Regions from separate parts of the Homo sapiens genome. Here region 2 is linked to region 1. The links are contacts of gene promoters, found by promoter capture Hi-C in blood cells and fetal thymus (Javierre and others, 2016). All regions are on one chromosome and are shown on one strand. The core of a region is centred on a gene start or on the middle of the fragment in contact, and the rest is flanking DNA. Distances in the headings are between cores, read along the strand shown. Region 1 holds the start of ST7L (suppression of tumorigenicity 7 like). Region 2 overlaps RSBN1 (round spermatid basic protein 1).

Evidence for each region. Contacts are between HindIII fragments. The CHiCAGO score rates a contact against its expected background, and 5 or more counts as called.
Region 2: a fragment that was not itself captured here is called in contact with the fragment with the promoter of ST7L in region 1 in 1 of 17 cell types (naive CD4 T cells); the score reaches 6.9 in naive CD4 T cells.

Annotation. Positions count from the first base shown.
Region 1 is chr1:112,617,525-112,621,540 of GRCh38, forward strand. It overlaps ST7L (suppression of tumorigenicity 7 like), which reads right to left and starts at 1,617. Exons shown (of 15, transcript NM_017744.5): 1 at 1,385-1,617. The coding sequence starts at 1,589. It overlaps CAPZA1 (capping actin protein of muscle Z-line subunit alpha 1), which reads left to right and starts at 2,308. Exons shown (of 10, transcript NM_006135.3): 1 at 2,308-2,359. The coding sequence starts at 2,321. RefSeq lists enhancers at 1,581-1,680, 1,789-2,988, 2,141-2,590. The HindIII fragment of the contact is 828 bases long and covers 1,113-1,940 here.
Region 2 is chr1:113,781,630-113,785,606 of GRCh38, forward strand. All of the region lies in intron 2 of RSBN1 (round spermatid basic protein 1), which reads right to left. Among named protein-coding and RNA genes, the nearest start is that of PHTF1, 24 kb to the left of the region's middle. The HindIII fragment of the contact is 4,937 bases long and covers 1-3,957 here.

The sequences.
Region 1 (4,016 bases), core at 367-2,866:
AAATAAAATAGACCCAGTCTCTACGCAAAATTTAAAACTCAGCCAGTCGTGGTGGTGCACGCCTGCAGTCCCAGCTACTTGGGAGGCTGAGGCCAGAGGATCGCTTAAGCAGAAGAGTTCAAGGCTGCAGTGATCTTGCCACTACACTTCAGCCTGGGTGACAAAGGGAGACTCTGTCTGTCTTTCTCTCTCTCACACACACACACACACACACACACACACACACACACACGAAACGTAAAAAAGAAAAATCTATAGTAATCAACTATTCTCATCTAAATGTTGCATATGGTTAACGTAGAAAAATAAATGACAAGTCAATCAGTAACACTGTGCATAGAAACCACCGTTAAGCACTTCATTCACCTGTTACAGAGATGCCAAATTAGCTCTTCAGTTTAGCTTATTTTAGAGTGCTAGTTATATTTGAACTTGATACCTATCCTCCAAAAAAACCAAAATATTTCCGAACATTAACTCACAGTCTTTCATGTCATCTCTGAACAGGAAAGGGGACATTTGCTGCCTTTTGCTTCAGAAAAATCAACCACCATACTGAATCATGTAATGGAAATACTTATATCTTGTTCTGAGGTTGCTGCTCAGATCTTGAGTGAAATATAATCACATGGTAAGGGGACCTGGGCCCTAAACACTTCATCCTGTCTACAGCTAAAGAATAGTACAGTATATGAGAATCCATCAGGATCATCACTTCTTACATGTGTTCGTATTGTCAGCACAGAATACGTAGCAAGTGTTCTACAGACGTCGAAAGAACTAGCAAACCCACTGTTGTTTGTGGCGCTCTCACTTCCTGTACTATTTTATTACTCAAGATAAGCCTAAAAGAACAGACAAAACTATCACGAAAACGATTTCTTAACAGAACTATTTTAAAACAAGAGAATCCTCAATTAAAATCATGCCATTTTCTTTCTCTGAAATCTTTAAATTACAGATGTGCTCATCTTTGTTGCCTGGATATGAGTTCTTTCAGCTGGGCAGCGGGAGACTCAAAGTAGTGACTTTTAAGGGATCCTACCAGAGGTGGGGGAGCCAATATAAATTACGTATCCTAATCTGAGACACTCTTCTGTCCTAATACCTGAAGCTTATAGCTTGTCAGGTGGCTTTTCCATGGAAAAACGAGGACATAAGAGAGAGGGCGGACCTTAAGAGTTCTACGGAGGAGCCGGTAACGGCAGCAGGCTTGTCAATCAACTGCAAGGTTGCAGCCCAAAAGAAAAAGAACTCACTTGATCGCTCATCATCGACTCCTCAGAGGCCCTCTAGGACTACCGAGAATCTCTTGCCCTTTGGCTCTTGCCCCCGACATCTCTCCTGGCCCCCCGCCCTGCCCCAGGAGGTCTGGTCCTCTCACCCGCTGCCAAATTCTCACACAGCCTCAAAGGGATCCTCAGGGCGTAAAGCAGCCCCAGCCCCGCCACGAACCACAACGAGGCCCCAGTCCCCGCCAGCCCGGCCCGCAGTCGCTCCCTCCAGCCTAGCGTCGGGTTTAGGCCAGGGACAGATGCAGGAGACGCTCCAACAGCTGCGGCTTCACCCACGCCGCCACGGTCCGCCATCTTGCCGCTATCGCAGGCGCCAGGAGCTGGGAGGGGAGAAGGACAGGAAACCGGGAGTCGGGAATCCTGGGATAGTGGCGGACCTGAAGTTGGCCTCTGTGAAGGCTGAGTCCTGGGGAACCGGGACCGAGAAGATTTCGAAGGTGGAGGAGCGTGTCTCAAGATTGGGGCTACCTGTTCTTTCGTGGGGCAGGGAAGGGGCGGACAGCAGCGCCTATTCTGGAGGAACTGGACTGAGATGTGACCCCGAAGTGTTACCGCTTCCAAACGAAATGAGGGTCACCTTTCACACCGCCCCCCCCCCGGGGTTGGAAAAGCCACCGATCGTTCCAGCTGCCGAGCAGCTCTTAAAGCTTTGGATTCGGCTGTCGTGGAGATAACGGGCACCAGAAAAACTTGTAGGAGTAGCAACAGCTATTTGGTCGGATGGAGGCCAGAAGCCAAGAATAATCGAAACACGCTGCCAGCGCCCATTAGATGGATGGGAAATGAGTGTAACTCATTGGGAAAGATATTAGACTTCAAATCACCTAAGGCAAACCCTACTTCCTGGGGCGCGGGCGCGGGCGCTGGCGTTAGGAGACGTCACTCCCGCGCATAACTGACATGGGGCCCTCTTGGTCGGCGTTTCCGGGCGGGTCCTTCCGACGGCCGCCGCGGTGATTCCATCACTCGGCTTTCTTCCCGGCCTGCCTCGCGCCCGTAGCCGGGCTGGGCCAGAACAGCCCAAGATGGCCGACTTCGATGATCGTGTGTCGGATGAGGAGAAGGTAAGGGGTCCGCCTCTCTCTCTTACCTCCTCCCCCGACAGGGAACTGGGGCCCGGCCCGGCTGCGTTGGGAGCCTAGCAGTGTCCCCAGGAAAAAGAAGCTTCTTGGTCCATGCTGACATACGCTCTCCGCAGTCGGGACGCTTCCCTCTTAGGGGGCTTTCCTCTGCCTCACGGTGGCCCCAGTTCCTCGTTCCTCGACTCTCCTTTTCTCTCAGGCCTGAGGCACAGCCCAGGGGCCTCCCTGCAAGGGAACAGACGTTTCCTTTATTGGATCGTGACTGTGGACTTTTTTCTGTAATTTTGCGAGAGGGTGGTGGTTATGTTGCGACATATCAAAAAGCAGTTATTTTACCGCCTTTAGCAGTTGGGGCTCACCCCATCCCCCCATTTGTAGATATAATTGGGGTTAGTTTAGGGCGAGTCACTTCCTGGTCAGGATGGCCTCTTAACTTCCCTTTTGCTCCTCCTTCCTCAGGAAGTGATTTTGCTGTCACGACTCTTCGACAAGGAGAGGTCCCAAATGTTGTCCATCTCCCTACACATGCACTACTTTTCTCCTGTACTGTCGCCTGTCTGATTCGCTATAATAAATCTGTGAGCCTCAGGGCATTTGCTTCAGAATTTGAACACCAGTCTTTCCCTATAGACACATCCCTTTTAACGATAATTTTTGAAAATTTTGTTTCTTGTTAACAAATCTAGAATAGCTGATGGATTTTCTTAACCTCCAGAAAGGTTTTCTGTAACACATAATAAACCTTATGTTAACACGTTCAAGACTGAACAAAGCATCCTGCCTTCTTTGATGCTCCACTGTGGAGTCTTTGATCAGTTGAATTTGTCAGTGTGCATTTTGTATGCTCATTTCTTGAAAAGGGTCTTAAATACAAGAGCACATTCTAAGGTGGAATAACTTTTCTTCTGACAGTTGCACAGTTTCATAACAGTTTGTCAGGCTTTTCAGTAAGTACATGGTTTTAGGGCACGTAGAACTTAGAATGACCTCACAAGGCAACTTATTGGACAAGAATTATGACATTTGTCTCCCACTGTGGCTATTAGAAAATGTGTCCCCTTGAGTGCTCTGTAAATCTACCTGGGTGTTTTTTTCAATAAGAAGTTGGGATGGGAAGGGGACTGTTATGATCCATAAGTCCTCTGTACGGAATAACTTGATATATGTAGATATGGCATGCCATTTTGAAATGTTTAACAAGCCATTGACAACAGCGTTAGATTTTCTCTTATTTGGAAACTGATCTTCATACATGTTTAAGATTTAGGACAAAAACATTTATGTATAAGCCTATGCTGGAAATCGATCTATAATAAATTGTTCTAAGGCAAATAGTTACTATTCAAATAAAATTAAGCAAAAATCCTGTTACAATACAACTAAACAATTTTTTTTTTTTTTTGAGACGGAGTCTCGCTCGGCTCACTGCAACTTCCGCCTCCCTGGTTCAAATTATTCTCCTGCCTCAGCTTCCCGAGTAGCTGGGATTACAGGCACCCGCCACCAAGTCCAGCTAATTTTTGTATTTCTTGTAGAGAGTGGGTTTCGTCTTGTTGCCCAGGCCGGTCTCAAACTCTTGGGCTCAAACGATCCATCCGTCTTCGCCACTTAAAGTGCTGGGATTACAGGCGTAAGCCAC
Region 2 (3,977 bases), core at 239-2,738, 1.2 Mb after region 1:
ACACCCTCAAATTTAATACCTACAAAACAGAGCTCGTTTTTTTGTAAGGTTCCCTTCCCCTCCCAAACCTTCTTTTTCTCCTTCTGTATGTACTTCGCCGGTTAATAATATTCATTTTCTCAGGTCCTAAATCAGGAATTGATAAATCCCTCTTCCTCATCACTTAAATCAAAATCTATCCTTCTAACTAAATCTGCAGTACCACTGCCTTAATTCAGGAAATTATCATTTCTCACCTAATTGTAAAACCTCTTAACCAGTATCCTTGCTTCAGGATTCCTATCCCCAAGAGCCATCCTACATACTGCTACAAATAATCTAGGAAAAAACATCTTATCATTCAACCTTCCCATTTTAAATCCTTTAGTAGCTCCATATTACCTGTAGCATCAAACTAGAAAATCCTTTTTAAGGAAGACAAAGCCCCTCCTGATCTATTATTCCAAGGGAATAACAGACCAAGATTTGCCACATTCTCCACATTTGCCACATTCTAAATATACATTTCGCAAATTCTAAATAATTTCTGCTGCCTCCACAAGTTTTCACATGTTATTGTCCACCTTTACAACTCCTATATTTCCTTGATGGTATAAAATGACTCAAAATAAGGTTTCAAGCTCAAAGAACGAAAGTACATAACATTTACAGATTTTAGGTAAGTTAGATTTGGAGTTATAACTAGATCAAAAAAGGTAAGGAATAGATGCATAGATTTGGAAATTGTCTATAACATATAATTTTTTAAGTGACTAAGACTTGAGAGAAAGAATAGAAAGAGACAGAACCAAGAACTGCACTTAAAGGAAAACAGATATTTGACAGACAGGAGGAAGAGTTAGCTAAAGAAATTGTGAAAGGATGAGTTAAGAAGTAATGCAATTAAAATGATGTAAGAATAACGTTTCAAAAATGGTCAAGGACAACTATTTTTTAAGAAAAACAAACTGGCTGTTATGAATAGTGCTGCAATAAACATGGAAATGCAGATCTTCAACATACTGATTAAATTTCCTTGAGTTGGACATATACCAAGAAGTGGAATTGCTTGGTCATGTGGTCGTTCTATTTTTAATTTTTTAAGGAACATCCACACTGTTGACCATAATGTCTGTACTAATTTAGATTGACATTAACTGTATAAAAGTTCTCCTTTTTCCATATCCTCACCAGCATTTATTTTTTGTCTTTTTGTTAACAGCCAGAACTGGGGTGAGGTGATATCTAATTGTAGTTCTGACTTCCATTTCCCTGATGATGAATTATGTTGAACATTTTTTCATATACCTGTTGTATGTCTTCAAATTTCAGAATGTCTATTTAGGTCTTTTGCCCACTTTTAAATCAGATTATTTCGTTGTTGTTGTTATTGGGTTGTTTGAATTATTTACATAAATTTTAGGCCACAGGGCAGAAAATACTATCTGGTCCTTAATAGAAAAAGTTTGCCAACCCCCAATTTAAACCACTCACAAAAGAAATCAAGCAATATGTTTGAATACAAACTTTGTGAAAGAGAACAATCTGTATTATTCAATATTATATATCTGTAATACAAAGTGCCTGGTATGTAGTCATAAATATTTGTTGAATTTCTGTATGTTAAGGCTAGAAATGAAGTAATCAACCACAAACTCTGGCAAAAAGAAAAAAAAGGGGTGGAGGGGGAGAAGAAGAACTGCTGATTACCAGTCTATCACTTGCATTTAAAAATTTAATAAATGCAAATGTTTGTGATACATTTAAATAATTAACAGCATAACAATGAACAGCAGTTATGACCACAAATTCAACATGCACCAACTTTCAACCTGAAAAGGCTGACAAGAAAAAAAAAAAGAGAGAAAAAAATAGATAAAACAAAAAAACATTCACCAACTGTAGGAAACTAATGCCAAACAAGCAAAGTATTCCTTCTTTTTAGTAAGAAAATTTCCTGGGCATATGGCCAATAAGCTAGGCTCCCTGACAGCTAAATGCGGCCTGTGCCTAAGTTTGGGCCAATGAGACAGTCACATAAGTTACATATGCAATCTTCAGGGCATACCTTTATAAGGAAGTGGCTTGCCCTCCACTTCCTTTTTCTCTTTTGAGGGCTGCAACACAGAGTGGTAAAGAGCTAGTCTCAATCATGCACATGACAACACCAGTAGGAACGACAAAAATTAAAGACAGAAGGAAACTAGCATCCTGGATGACAACAAGGAACAGAGTTGCTTACCTCGGGACTGCTAAACAAGAGACAAACTTTTGTTCTAGCCACTGCACATTGGTCCTCATTGTTATGGTTTTTTAGCCTATACCTTGTATACTTTGTAATGAGGGAGGCAATATTCTGCATTGCACAGAGATATCATCTGGGGTGTGATCTCCCGATCTGGCCTAAAAAATATCTATAACTAGGGCACACCCAAAATAGAACATTTAAAGTGATTAGGGACTTGCAAACCATACAAAATGGAGGAAGAATGCAAGAAATCAAAAGTATTTCAAAAGTATTTAACTTGAAAAGATTAAAGGAGGGACACAACAGTCTTCAAATACTTGGAGGCCTGTAACATGAGTTACAGGAAAGCAGGTGTCATTCATTTACCACAAGTTTATTGTACAGTCATGTGTCACCTAATGACAGAAATACATTCTGAGAAATGTCATTAGGCAATTTGTGGTTGAGAACATCACAGCTTGTACTTACACAAATCTAAGTGGTATAGCCTACTACACACCTAGGCTATATGACATAGCCTATTGCTCCTAGGCTACAAAACTTACAGCATGTTATTGTACTGAATACTGTAGTCCAGTGGTCCCCAATCTTTTTGGCATGAGGGACTGGTTTTGTGGAAGACAATTTTTCCACGGAAAAGGGCAGGGGGTTGGCAGGCATGGTTCTGGATGAAACTGACCCACCTCAGATCATCAGGCATTAGTCATATTCTCATAAGAAGTGTGCAACCTAGATCCCTCGCATGCACAATTCACAACAGAGTTCACACTCCTATGAGAATCGAATGCTGCAGGTTATCTGACAGGAGGCGGAGCTCAAGCAGCAATGCTATTATAGCTTGCTGCAGCCAGGTTTTTAACAGGCCACAGACCAGTACTGGGGGACCAGTACAGTTGAGGACCCCTGCCGTAGATACCTGAAACACAATGGTAAGTTTTTATGTATCTAAACACATTTAACTTCCCATGCTTGCAGAATAGGGAGTTGTTATGGGTCAGTGAGTGAGTGGTGAGTGAATGTGAAGGCCTAGGACACTGCTGTACACTACTGTAGACTTTATAAACAGTGTACACTTAGGTTACACTGATTTTTAAAATTTTTCTTTCTTCAATAATAAATTAACTTTAGCTTACTGTAATTTTTATAAACTTTATGAGTTTTTTAATTCTTTGACTCTTGTAATAACACATAGTTTAAAACACATTGTACAGCTATACAAAAATACTTTCTTTACGTCCTTATTCTGTAAGGTATTTTCTACTTAAAAACTTTTTTTTTTACTTTTTTTAAACCTTTTTTGTTAAAAACAAAGATACAAATGCACACATTGGCCTATGCCTACAACAGGGTTGGAATGATTAATATCACTGTCTTTCATCTCCACATCTTGTCCTGCTGAAAAGTCTTCAGGGGCAATAACACTCACGGAGCTATCATCTGCTATGATAACAAAGCCTTCTTCTGTAATATCTCCTGAAAGATCTGTCTGAGGGTGTTTTACAGTTAACTTTTTTTTAATAAGTAGAAGTATGTTCTAAAATAATGATAAAAGGTATAGTAAATATAGTAAGTGATAGGAATTTTTCAGCTCCATTATAATCTTATGGAGTCAGCGTTACATATGCAGTCTGTCATTGACTGAAACGTCACTACATAGCACATAAACATATATTTTATGCCACTGTACTCAACACAGGTATAGCAAACCAGACCTATTCCTGGCCACTTGAAGCTTACAGTCTAGTAAGGA